Regions from separate parts of the Homo sapiens genome. Here region 2 is linked to region 1. The links are contacts of gene promoters, found by promoter capture Hi-C in human tissues and cell types (Jung and others, 2019). All regions are on one chromosome and are shown on one strand. The core of a region is centred on a gene start or on the middle of the fragment in contact, and the rest is flanking DNA. Distances in the headings are between cores, read along the strand shown. Region 1 holds the start of TMEM17 (transmembrane protein 17). Region 2 has its middle 52 kb from the start of TMEM17.

Region 1 (6,813 bases), core at 2,850-5,349:
GATCCAAATACACATGTTTAAGTAACCATGTATTTTCAAGACTGATAAGAAGAGGGAAAATATCAATTTTAAGTGTTTACTACATTCATATACTTTACATAAATCATTTCACTTAATCACAACAAACCTGTGAAGTAAATATTATTTTCCTCATTTTATATATGAGGAAACCAGGGCTCAAGAGATTAAGCAAACAGACCACAGTGACAGAAGTGGTAAAGCTGGAGTCAGGCTTTAAATTCAGGCCTGTGCTCTTTCTGCCACACCTCACTGCCTTTTACTTGTTATGAAAACTGATTTCATTTATATCTATCACTGAGAGAAAGGAAAAAAGAGCTTACCTTCTCCTGTAGGTTACCCACGTAGCCCAGATACAACCGGATGGCTTCAATTAAGGTTATTAGGATGATAACAGTGATCACAATGAATTTGTAGTAGTCAGGTAAGATTGAATACTAAAAGAAAAGCCAAAACATGTTTGTAAAATCTCATGTATAGTAACATTGATTTAAGATAGAAAAAATTATTAAGAACTTGAATTTTATTGACACTCTAACAACGTCAGGGCAGCAAAAGTATTAAAGCTTAGATTTACCTTCATGTGAAGCATCATAATGCTGCTCACCCACCACAGTGGGAAATAGTAGGTATTAAAATAAAGTGACATCTGCAGTGCCAAACTGGAGACCATTTCATTTTCTACAGAAGGAACAGAAAAGGAACAAATGATGAATCTTGGGTTTATGCCCTATATATATATATCCTATTCCCTAGAATTAATAACTATAATATTGGCTCAGTAAAACACCAAATTTTATGCCTATTTATAATCATTGACAGTAAAAGGAATATTCATCCTAATACCAGTTAGGTCAAATATTGGCTATTTGGGGGTACGTTTCATATTTTTCAATTATTTTACCATTTTGCCATTACAGTCTTCTGACTTTTTGGCATATACTACTGGTATAGATTTAATGTAGAATATCAACATAAATCCTATTCAACAGATAATTATCATTGCCTCTTTTGTAGAATTCTATGTAAATAGCATATAAAATTAATGCATAAAATAAATAAAAATGAATCTCCCACAGATAAACTAATCTTATACAAAAACGGATTACCAAGGTTATAATTAGACACATCTCTCTTTTCAGCATACCCTAATCTTAGCCATTCTTTAAAGTCCAATTCAGTGTCATCTTTTCCATCAATACTTCCTTCATCAGTTCCCCCACCTCAGCAGAAATACCTTTCCCCTTTAGGTACTTACCACTCTAAACTGTCAATAAGAAGTGCTAGCAAAGAACCACACTCCCCTCCCCAAAAAACAGTCTGGTGTACTGAACAGATCATGGGCTTCAGAGTTCAAGCAAATCCGAGCTCCCCAAACCTCTGTGACCCTGGATGTCAGACTTGACATGAATTATTTAAACTCTTTGAGCTTCTATTTCTTCATCTGTAAAATAGTGAAATTAAAACTTCCTCACAGGCTGTTTGTGAGAATTAGAGCCAATATAAATTATTTCATCCTAGCACTGTGCCTGGCACACTTAGTAGGCACTCAACAAATATTAGTCCTCTTTCCTTCTTCTCTTCTACTTATCTACAGGCTCATTGCAAGCACACACCATGTCCTACCCTAATTTGAGACCCTCATAGAATCTAGCATCTTGCTTTCCACGCAGTGAATATCAAATACACATAAGAATGAATTAATGAAAGTATACTGTCATAAGGACATTACTAGCATAGCCATTTGTGATACATGAGTTCCATTTACCTAAGGTTGATTCCATAACACTTTCTGCTTTTATGTAAGAGAGCAGGGTCCTAGATTAAGAATTTGATTTTTAAAATTGAGCCCTACAAAATACATCCTAAATTTGACTAAATTCTTAAGAGCAGACACATATATTGAAATCAGTTGCTGTACACGTAAGATTTTAAAGGCTCTAAAATAAATGTCTTAAAAACATTATTTTCTCCTTTTCTCCATAGCTGAGTGTTTTTATCTGTCACTTAATTATTTTAAAATATAAGAAATAGTCATGGTCTCTCACAGCAAAATAGTTTCTTTTAGCTCCAAGAATATGCCTGATTATTATGATCTACTTTTGCTTGCAACTGTTTATTAAATTACCACTGATAAAGGAATGAATTCTTAAAATCTGTTAAATCTGAAGACAACTCACCAGCCTAGGATCTTTTCGATAGCAACAGTACAAAGCTGCGGACATGGTAATGACATAAACTTGTTATTACAGTACAAATAATCAAACCTACTTCCAATCCACAAAGAAGAAAATTTGGGAAAGAATAATAAATTGGGCAAGCTGAACATTTCAGTACCTTTGAGAAGAAACTGTAGTCAAATTTTGCAAAGAATGGTTTTCATGTTAGAAGTATTGTGTGTTAACATCTTAAAGGTTATGCTATGTCCATATTTCAGCAGATCAAACTTATAATCATGGAAATGAAAATCAAATTAATATGTAAATGAACCTTAAAAGCGTAAGACATAAACTTACTAAATTTTGCAAAAGTTCAAGTTGAGTTCTGTAAATGGAATTTAAATTAAAACATACAATATAAATCAGGGATAGGTAAACAACTGGCCAGCTGCCTGTTTTTGTACAGTCAATGAGCTAAAAATGTTTTTTCACGTTTAAATGGTTAAAAAAGTAATATTTTTTCCACACGTGAAATCCATATGAAATACAAATTTCAGTGTCCATAAAGTTTTATTGGAACACAGCCCTGCCTATTCAATAACTATTGTCAATGGCTGCCGTGGAGACCATATGGCCTACAAAGTCTAAAATATTTACTATCTGGTCCTTTTCAGAAAACGTCTTTTTACCTTGTATTATCAGACGTTAGTGCTCATTAAGCCTCATCCTTGGAACCAGAAACGTGAAAACCTATTTTTTTCACATTTTTCTCTGTACATCCTAAATCATAAAGGCCTACATTTGGGAAATAGGCAAGTGATCAAGGTGACAAAATGCAGCTTTGGGAACTGCCTTTACTTTTCTCTGTCCCTTTTAAAAATTCTCTAAAACCAAGCAGAGGAAAAGATTGATATTTCCCAGCAGAGTTGAATGATGAAAACCACATGGGTTTGGTTGACAGTGTGTTGTCTACCATCATGATGTAGGAGGAGGAAACTGTTCTGGAGGAAACTGTGTTATCACTTGACATCAAGTTAAAGGACGCAGAAGCATCATGGTATTTTGTTACCTTATGATAAGAGTTACATATAGGGGAGGAGGAGAAGGCAGGGAAGGGGTGAGTTTTGTTGAACGCCCGGCTAGTATGGCACATGCCAGTGGGAGTGGATGGTGGTTTGAAAGGACTCATTAACTTTTTTTTTTAATGTCTTCTACGAGAAAATGGCCTTGCTTAGGAACATACTTGTTCTGCTAGGAAAAGGGAAAAGGCAAATTTGTTCCCTGGGGTGGGGGTGGGGACGGGGGAGGTGGGATTGCTTGGGCTATTCCTCGTCATCCTGGACAGAAAAGCCGGGGCGGGCGCCGCAGAGGCAAAACAACTTGGGCCTTCGCTCTCGCGGCGCGCGGGGGACCAGCCTGTGCAGCAAGGGCGGCTTTTATCTTTTTATTTTTGGGGTTTCTCCGGGACAATGATGGGCCTTGCGCGGCACAGAGATCGGCCCCACGTCAGCTGCCGCGCTTGCAACAAGCTGGCCAGGGAGCACCACGCGGAGACCAGGCCCGGCCGGGGGCGGGAGGCCGCCAGCGCCTCAGCTCCCTGTCCGGCCCGGCCCCTCCTCCAAGGCGCTCTCCCGCACTGCGGAGAACTGGCTGAAGGCGACATCGCCATTTTAGGTACGGGCAAATTCTGGACGCTCCAAAATCCACGCCAAGCCCTCGGCAGGCCACACCCCCTGCACCGGGCCTCGGTCACTCACCCGGACCCTCATTGGACTCTGGACCGGTCCGATTGGAATCACTGAACACGGCCCGGCTGAAGTTTCCCAGCCGCTGGCGCACCGGATCCGGCAGCTCCATGCCTGGGCCTCAGTATCCCTCACCCCCTCAGACACGGGCTAGTCTGCGGGCGCTCCGAGGCTCCGTGGTTCCCACGGCAACCGGGCGGCGCGAGGCCGGCGGGACCCGGGAGCGCGCGGGGCTGCCCGGCTGGGCTGGGTCTCGTCCGGAGCCCGCGCAACCTGGAAGGGACCGGCGCGCTCAGAGCGCGTTCCAGGCCCAGGGAGCCGCGCGCCTCGGCCGTGTACAAAACGGCAGATCCCTTAGTTCTGCTTTGAGCTCGACCATCCTAAAAACAAACCTATACTAAGAAATGAGCTGGGGTTGGACTGCGATACAAGGAGCCCTCACATTTGCCAGTGGAACTGTAAATCGGTACAACCTTTCTGGAGAGAAATAGAGAACGAATGCAGAGCTTAAAGAATGTCTAGAGGTGTAGGGGTGTGTGTGAGAGAGAGAGACATCATGTGACTGATTATTTTTTAATAAGAAAACAGCAATGGGCAACTGATTAAATGTACTGGAGCACATACATTCAATGGAGTATGTTTCAGCTGCTTATAAAATGCTTGCAAAGGATATTGAATGGTATAGTTTAACTTTATGTAAAAATACAGCAGAAATAAAACTAAATGAGAATGAACCTAATTTAGCAAAATTTATGTGTATGAGTGGAGGGGAGGAGAGAGCGTGTGCACACTGGCTTGAAAAAAAGAACTGGAAAAAAGTCCAAAATGTTAACAGTCGTTTTCACTGGATAGTGGGATTGTAGGTGATTCAAAAATTTTTAAACGTCTTATTTTCTAGCTTTCTCTCAAGATATATTACTTAAAAAAAACTAAGTGTAATACACATACAGAAAAATTGTACACCTTTTGTAAGTAATATATATTACTTAAGAAATAAGTGTAATATATATACATAGACTGAAATCTGTATGTGTAATCAGCACCCTGTTCAAGAAACTTTACAATATTCCCAGAAACTCCCCCTTCCTATTTCCTTTCAGTCACTAAACCCACTCCTCACTCATAACTGACCTTTCCTGAATTCTAACAGCAAAGGAGAGTTTTGCCTTTTTTTTTTTAAATCAGAACATTTATTGTGTGACTAATCTAAAATTTTTTTTTTTTTTTTTTTTTTTAGACAGAATCTTGCTCTGTCACCCAGGCTGGAGTGCAATGGCACAATCTCGGCTCACTGCAACCTCCGCCTCCTGGGTTCAAGTGATTCTCCTGCCTCAGCCTACCGAGTGGCTGGGATTACAGGTGCCCGCCACCACACTCGGCTAATTATTGTATTTTTAGTAGAGACAGGGTTTCGCCATGTTGGCCAGGCTGGTCTCGAACTCCTGACCTCAAGTGATCCACCCGCCTTGGCCTCCCAAAGTGCTGGGATTACAGGTGTGAGCCACCGTACCTGGCCTGAAATTCTTAAGATGAACTGGATGCTGCAGCAGCTGTCCTCTTGGGTTTAGGTGGCATTCCTTTAAAAAATCCATGCCTTAACCTGCTGTACACAATTTTTAAGTGCCTCATTCGACCAGTCCCACTGGTATATTTTTTAGCCTCGGCACTCCAATTATACTTTATCTTGGCTTGGGAGGGTAGCCGCGTTTGCCACAGGCGGACTTTTGAAGGAGTTAGAGTCACAGGGCAGCACTAGCTGTGCATCTTATCGCACCACTTTCTAGATGATGACACTCCCTTTGTCATCTTGCTTCTGTTTTGCATATTTATATAAAAGCAATCATACTGTAAGTACTTTTTTAAAAAACTGGCTTTGTCTTCAACATTACTTTCATGAAATTCCTTCATGTCATTGAGTGTAGATTCTTTTGCCTTGCTCTTTGTGATCATACCACAATAAGCTTACTCATTCTACTGTTGATGAGTGTCTGTATTTTCTAGTTTGGAGCTGTTGTGTATAGTGCTGCTTTGGGGAAAAGATGCCTCTTGGTGAACATATGCATGCATTTTTGTTGAGTGTATATCGAGAGTGGAATTGCCGTGTCATAGGATACGAAAGACCCAGCTTTAGTAGAGGCTGCCTACAGTTTTCCAAAGTGATCAAACCAATTTCTGCTGCCTCCAGCAATGTGTGAATATTTCCATTACTCCATATACTTCACCAACACTTGTTATTTCTTATCCTTTCCTTTTAGCCCTTCTGATGGGTGTGTGGTAAAAGTATTATTTTTACAATCAAAAGGAAAATTACACATTTATATAAATGCAAGAAGAAGATATGGGTGGAAATAAGTTCATGACTAGAATTTTAAAATAATTACACAAACGTTTATTGCATTCCTACTGCTTATTTGGATATCGTGCTAGGCTAATTAGGGATATGGTCCCTCCTCATCAAGAAGCACAGCTCAGTGAAAGAGAGACATGGAAACAAGTAAGTGCAAACACTGTTATTAGACGTGCTCTATTAAAGGACCACGTCTTTTAATTATTAAAGAAGCAATTAATTCGGGTTGAGGATGTCAGGGAAAAGCTGGTTAACTTCTGCTTCATTTCAAGATGGAGTTCAGACCTGAGAATCTCCAAAAAGGCTTCTAGGACCTTCCTGAAATAGCTTAGGTGCTCTCTTCTGTGTTTCCCAAAGCATCTTCCTCTTGTTTCTTTGGTCACAGTGCTGGTCACTCTATACTAAAATTGTCTGTTTATGTGTCTGTGTCTCTTGCTAGTCCTCAAGCTCTTAGAGGTCAAGAATGGACTTTCATCTTTATATCCCCAACACTAGCACAGTGTGGTACCTGGCCATGAGTAGGAGCTGGATGACTGTTGAGTGA
Region 2 (7,199 bases), core at 1,332-3,831, 51 kb after region 1:
TTAGTTAGGCTCTTTTCCTTGATGCATTCTTAATGTTATAGTCAATGAAAAAAAATAAAATTTCAATCATGCCGTTGTCTAATAGAGGTTGTTCCATCCTTCCCCATCAGATAGTCATTAATATTCTCAGAATTTTAACCATACTTAAAACTTGGCCTACAGTCAAACAGTATTTATGAACATAAAAGTGTTCCCATTTTCCCCAAGAAATATAAAGAAAATTATCACTTGCTGGATTTAAGCTAAGTCATCCCCTGGTAGATTAAGTGTTCATGGCCCTCTGATAATAGCATGTGCCACAGCCTCACCCAGTGTATTGTGTGGGCCCTTGACTGTACTTTCCTCTCAACTACTTCCAACTGTGGGTCATCCACTCAACAGACATTTCATTGTGTGATTTCCTATTGACAAATGTCTTTCTTGTGCTTTTTGTAATGCTGTTCTGTTTGGAGCAAGTTTGTTCCCTTTGGCAGAAAACACTATTCATGAGAAAAATTTTCTAATGAAAAAAATCCTAGACTTTGGTGCTGAGTATCAGCAGCATAAGGAAAAGCACAACTGTGTGAGGATTAGAACTTTATATGTGTAATTGACTTCAGGCTCCAACCAAAGACAGCATCAGGATAAATCCTCTTATGCTTTTACTTGCTCTGAACCACCTCTCAGATGTCCAGGTTCATGGTAAAATGTGTTTCATCTATGCCTGAAGTATCTTGAGGCTCTAAATCTTTGCAAGAGTATTTTATTCCCTCATCCATGTTAGAAAAACATCACCAGGAAGGCAAACATAGTTACCTGATGGTCTCATGTTAGACTTTTTGTTTATTTAGGTAAGCACCTCTTCCTACTAGTGGACTCATCTCAGAAGATTTCAAAAACAAAAGTCTCAAGTGACGTGGATATTTCCACCTGGTTGTAGTGGGATAGGCTGGATTGATGATTTTTCACACTAAGCTCTGAGTGTTCCAATGAGTTCCTTGGAAGTCTCTCAGGATCAACAGGGGTGAGTGGAAGGGGCTCCCCACTCCAGTTTCAATATGAGATACTCTATTTTTGTCCATTTTATATAAGTTGATCTCTAATCTGAATTTCATTTGAAAAAAGTGTTCCACTGCTTAAAGGTAAGTTTAAAAAGAGAACAGAACTAGAATACTTCTAAAAAAATTCAGTAGTTAGCTTACATTGCATACAAATAAAGTAGGCATGGGATATTGATATTGCTGTTAATTCAAAGCAGTAACACATTTAAAAATTCATTTATTCTACAAACATCTATTGAGTTATGATTGCTGCTAAATATGTTCAGTTTGAGATTCTACCCAGTATGATGGGATAGTGTTTTTCACAAGGTACATGGCTCTTTGCAGATGTCCAACACTCTATAAACTACATAGCTGGAAGGGAACCCGGGAATTATCCAGTCTACCCTCTTCCTTTTTAGTCAAAGAAACTAGAGTAGAAAGAAATTAAGTAAGTTGAACAATGATACTTCAGGCACCAAGTGGGCAGCTGAAGTAAATCCACATGCAGCCTGCCCTGTGTGTATAAAAATAATGCATCTTGGGGATGACAGAGGAAACTAAAATATGTTCTGTCTTATTTTATATTACAAGACTAACTCTGTTCATGTCAAGTTGCTAAACCATTAATACATAAAATTAAGAAAAAAAGGTACTTTTGTATGTTTGAGAAACATTGTGAGAACCAGTCTCTAAATATGAATTCTTGTCTTCCCTGTTTCACTGCACTATGTGCAAAAATTTGTTTCCAAAGAGATCAAGGAGGCATACACACTGATTTATCCTATGGTTGTTATGAAATTCTGCCTACCCTCAATCTTGCTCCAAGGTCCTTTCCACTGCAGCAGTCAAGCTCATCTACTATCCCAGTCCCACTAGTGCCAATACCTTGACCTTCCCATGAGACGTTAGGAATCTTTGTGGCTGCTGGGATAGGACTGGCAATGGAACAGGGAAAGACTGAGCCAGGCAAGACCATTAAATCCAGCTGTCCCTGGGCCAGGTTCGTGTAAGAAGAGAAATGGCTTTCTGTGGACAGATGCAAAGCTGAGCTGCCAAGAAGTTTGATGGGATGGTAGAGGAGGTAGTTCTCTAAATATTGGAAATCCCAAGCCTGTGGAAGGTGATGGCACATAAGGAAAGACCTCACACTTTGGAGCCGATGGACTTGGCTTTAGAATCCCAGCTGCACCTCTTACTGGCAATGAGACTTTGCAAATTTATTTTAACTTCTCTAAGCCCTCAGTTTCCATCTCTGTAAAATATGGTTGTAAAAATGCCATGAAATAATGTATGTAAGGAAATTCATTAGCACAGTGCCTAATAAATTTCAGTTTCTCTTTTCTTTGCCTTAAATTCCTTAGTTTTCTCCCATCTCAGGCTCTCTCTCTCTCTACGTCTCTATGAAACAGCTCTGCTAAAGAAAGATGCAAACTTTTGATAATCTACCCTTGAAGAAAAGCTCCTTGGAATTTGGACCTACAGTTTGAAAATTTGGCATGCTACACCAACACTACAGTGACAAGGGAAAAAATTGTTTGTGACAGAGAAAAATTACCTGCAATTTACAATACCCAGCTGCCTCCAAAGGAGGTTCTTTGCTGAACAGAGTGATGGGTATGAGGATGCAGGGTTAAGAGAGTTCACCAAATTGTTCTGCATTAGAAAAATCCTGTTTATTCATTTATTGTAGGAGGTAGGCAGGGGTGAGTCAGGGTGAATGGAAAATGAATGAGATCCAGAAGAACCAGGGAAAATGTGGAGCCTATGTGTGGCAAGATTGAAGGGTGGGAAAGTGGCTAAGGGGAACTTTCTGAGGAGACCCCAGATGTTAAACAGGAATTTTTATTAAAATTTGCTATGTGGTGCTCCATATAATCCTTTCATGCCTTTCTCCATAAAACCTACAATAATATCTATATTTCTTATCACTATGTTGAAGGAAATTGAGTTTGTTCTTGTTGAGAAGTACAAGAACAAATTGAAGTGTTAAGTCCCACTTCAAGGTGTTTGTGACCCCAGGACAGGGCTGCCTATGAGGCCCAGGAACATCTGGGTCCCATTACTTAAAAATCAGCAACCTCTCCTCTGGCTGAAGACATGCATTATTTTTAAAAAGCAGAAAGAAAGAACCAACACCTAGAAACCATTGTCTTGGGGCCCAGGACAATACGACTCAGCTCTGAAGGATAAAGGTAGAGTTTTACCAGCCAAAGGTACACAAAGTCCAAAAGACTGGCCTTAACTCAGTGATGTAGTTTGGATATTTGTCCCTGCCCAACTCTCATGTTGAATTCTAATTCCCAGTGCTGGAGGTGGGGCCTGGTGGGAGGTATTTGGTCATGGGGGTGGATTCCTCATGGCTTGGTTCTGTCTTCATGATAGTGAATGGGTTCGCAAGATATCTGGTCATTTAAAAGTGTGCGGCACTCCCCTACTCTTTCTTTTGCTCTTGCTCTGGCCATGTGACATGCCTGCTCCCCCTTCACCTTCCACCATGATTGTAAGCTTCCTGTGGTCTCTCTAGAAGTCGAGTAGATGCCAGCACCATGCTTCCTGTACAGCCTGTAGAACTGTGAGCAATTAAACCTCTTTTCTTTATAAATTGTCCACTCTCAGATATTTCTTTATAGCAACGCAAGAATGGCCTAACACACTCAGAACTTCTCTATGTACCTCACAAAATGGTTATAAGGCCCTCAACTCTTAATCTTTCTATTGTAAACATTGTTGATATTGAGAATATTTACCTGATGCTGCAAAATTTGTGTGAAAAGTCAAAGAATAAAAGTGTTTAATAAATCCCAAGGCAGAGACTTTCATTTGACTGAGAACTCTTTCCATGGCCAGACAATCAACAGCAGCAGCTTTCTGAGCTCATCTGTGAAGTAATGGGATAATGGATTAGATTTTCAGAGCTTCCAGCAGAGCTTGTGGTCACATTTAGCTCCATTGCTCTACTTCCCTCGTGATTCTCTTTGCTTTTTCACAGTGGAACAGGGCCTATTAGCAAGCAAGAAGTAGCTTTTAAGAAAAAGGTCACATTAAAAAAAAAGAAAGAAAAGAAAAAGGTCACAGAAAAACACATACCTTGAAAAACTGATAGGAGTAGAAATTGGATATGGAGAAAGATGACAGAGTCCAAGAGAGCATCCAGGAAGCTTTTAAGGTTTGAGAGTGTTACATAGTACACTACTTTGAAATAATAGCTATTCAAATGAATAAAGCTAAGGGAATTTGTTGTGGAAGCTTAACTGCTTCAAGTCATTGGTGAAACATCCAGAACAGCAACCATTTTAACTGGAAAATTGGTTTCTACAAAATGATCAACAGGTACAAATGAATGGATGATGCTCTATTGCAAGGACAACATGAAGATAGCCCTGAACATGCTACAGTGAGCTGCCACATAAACCAGCTCTGAGAATTGAGTATCATAATGTAGAGGAAAAAGTGTAAGATTTAGAATTAGATGGCCTAGATGAAAACCCAAGCTCTAATACTTGCTACTTGCCAAATAGTAGGTCACTCAGTTCTTCTGAACCTCAATATCATCTTCTATAAAGAGAGGTGTTGTACCTCACATGGTTGTTAAAAGTTCCAGTGAAGAAAAATGCAGATGAAAGCACTTTTCCATTTTTTTCTAATGATGAAAGTAATATATGTTCAATGCAAGCAACTTACAAAGCAGAAAAATGCTAAAGAAGAAACCATAATCTTACCAATCAAGGAGAACAGATAGTATTTCAATATGTCTTCTCAATTATTTTATATGTATGGGTGTGTGCACGCACACACACATACACACACAAATACACTTCTTTTTAAACAAAAATAACATCTTGAATGTGCATACTATTTTTGTAGCCTGCATTTCTACTTAGCAATAATATACTGCAAAATATTTCCCATGCCAATATTCTTCTACCAAGTGTTTAGGAAAACACTTAAAACTGTAAATGGCCATTCAAATATCAGTAGTTATTATGAAAATATGAATGAATGAATATTCTCATTTTTCCCTCTATACACACCAAACCTGAAGCACCCAAAAAGTCCCCCTGCATCATTTTATTGGCAGTTTTCTAAATAAGCTATAAGGTGAACAGAATCCTTTTCTTCTATCTTTTTTTGTTTCTTTCATGATCTTTTTGATAACTAGGAAGAAAAAAGCTACAAAATGAGATTGCATGCCAGCATATTTTACTTTAAATGCCTTTGATTTATTATCTTCAAATTTGCTTTTCCAACGATGCATGGATTCTGTTGAGATGTGCTACGTGTGCACCCTCATGCTTTCCATTAACATAAGTTACAAATAATTACCCTGAAGTCTGGACCCACTGCCCTTTTGTTTTCCATATCCAAGGTCTTTTGCTCTCATGAAGAATATATACACTTTTTCTATTTACACAAGTAGAAAGTAAATTGCAGCTCTGATTTGGGAGTGGCACAAAAATGATGAGTGGGCAAGTTAATTTGGTATGAGGATGTTTTGCCCATCTCAACTGACCTGGATTGAGATTTGGAGATGTGGGAACTCATTCCGACTCTCATTATTCATGCATCTTGAGCAAACCACTCACCTTTCCTCAACCTTGGTTTCTTCATCTGTAAAATGTCAGGAATAGAGTAGATAATCTCTGAACTTCTAAGATTTTAAGGCCACATTTGGAAAGTCAGGTGTGCATTCTGATGGAACACAGGAGATACAGTGGACAGATATGCCCCAGAAGAGCTCTAACCAGCTGCTTAAATAGTGAAAACTCCTGTGCCACTTTTTTTTAAACCTTTTAAATGGCTTTATGTGCAAATAGTGAACAGATGTTGTACCCATAAATTCTACTTTCCAAAAACAGGAGCTTTTTAAAAGAAAACCACATAATAACTTTTAAAAGGTGCTGGGATTCCTCCACTTCTAGATCATTGCTAGGCTAGAAAAATAAAGTTTGTTCTATCAGGAATCACAAGTTAGAACTGAGTATTCTCCAAAGTGGAAATTCTAGAGTGTAGTGTCACTCCAGGCAAAGATTATTCAGTTCTCATCCCCAACATCCACAGCTACCTATCAGAAGGGTTAAACCAGGTCAAAACAGTCCAGCATAATTAGGCTTCATCCAACAATGTCATTATGCTCTTCTAAGATACAAATAAACCAAAACAGGAAATACTAAAATTAAAATAATATTTGACACTGTCATACAAATTGTTATTTCCTTGTTGTATCCCCCACTTCTATAACATTAATAAAGGGAATATTTTACTGCCAAGAATATTTTATTTTATACATCACTGGCCATGAATTTTTGCCATTAGTTATTATACAAATGCTGCCTAGTGCCATTATCCAAATGGCATAACCATTTTATGTCCACAATTCACTTCTATAGTTATAAGTAGAATTTTCATGATTTACATAAGTACATCTATCAGTGAAGATTTAACACTGAGATGCAATCTAATGTCCGTAATATGTGACGTTTCGTAGATGACAATGTAGGAAAGATATATTTTAATCACTTTTCATTTAAGTGACCTTATGTAAAAAGTAAAGTAATAATTTAGTAGTTCCAAGTCTCCAGAGGGCATTTTCAAATGTACATAAAAGAAATGGTTACAGAGATTTTTTTTAAGAAGCATCTTCCATGTCCACATCCTCTTGTAACTGCTGTACCATTTTCTCTTACAACTGCTTTCCTTTGCCTGCAAGAGGGGCTAGGATAAGATGGATGTTTTGCTTGACTTCTTTGAAGTTTCTGTAGCGCTTTATTTTTCTTCAATCTGTTCACTACAAATTTAGCTTGGCGTTTCTGTTTGATCTCTTCAACTCTCTTTATTGCCTCAATAGTTTTATTCCATAGCTCTCACTGGTATTTGATAGGTTCATTTCTACGTTTTTCAAATTCAAATGAATTATCCACTGTAAGCTCTTTATCAGCTGCTTTCCAGAATGCTTTGGTCCACCCAACTTTGCGAGGATTGCGCTTCTTTTTAAAGTTTTTATGATATTTAGAGTTACAAAATCTGAACACCTTGCAATTGTTCTGGACAAACATCATGCTGTGGCCAGGGTAGATGGACCCCGAACAGAAATAACACTTCTCGATACACATGTTGAACCCACCAAACAAACGTCAAGCTTGAGAGCCCTGTGCCACTTATTAAATGTACCCCTATTGG

Evidence for each region. Contacts are between HindIII fragments. The study calls those that stand out against the background at their distance.
Region 2: a fragment that was not itself captured here is called in contact with the fragment with the promoter of TMEM17 in region 1 in 1 of the 25 tissues and cell types used here (mesenchymal stem cells).

Annotation. Positions count from the first base shown.
Region 1 is chr2:62,502,096-62,508,908 of GRCh38, forward strand. TMEM17 (transmembrane protein 17) reads right to left here and starts at 4,100. Exons shown (of 4, transcript NM_198276.3): 1 at 3,935-4,100; 2 at 596-699; 3 at 342-455. The coding sequence starts at 4,034. It also overlaps the pseudogene RPL37P13. RefSeq lists an enhancer at 1-186 and silencers at 2,999-3,293, 3,631-3,800, 4,011-4,280. The HindIII fragment of the contact is 10,369 bases long and covers 3,234-6,813 here.
Region 2 is chr2:62,554,292-62,561,490 of GRCh38, forward strand. It overlaps the pseudogene RSL24D1P2. Among named protein-coding and RNA genes, the nearest start is that of TMEM17, 52 kb to the left of the region's middle. The HindIII fragment of the contact is 3,285 bases long and covers 940-4,224 here.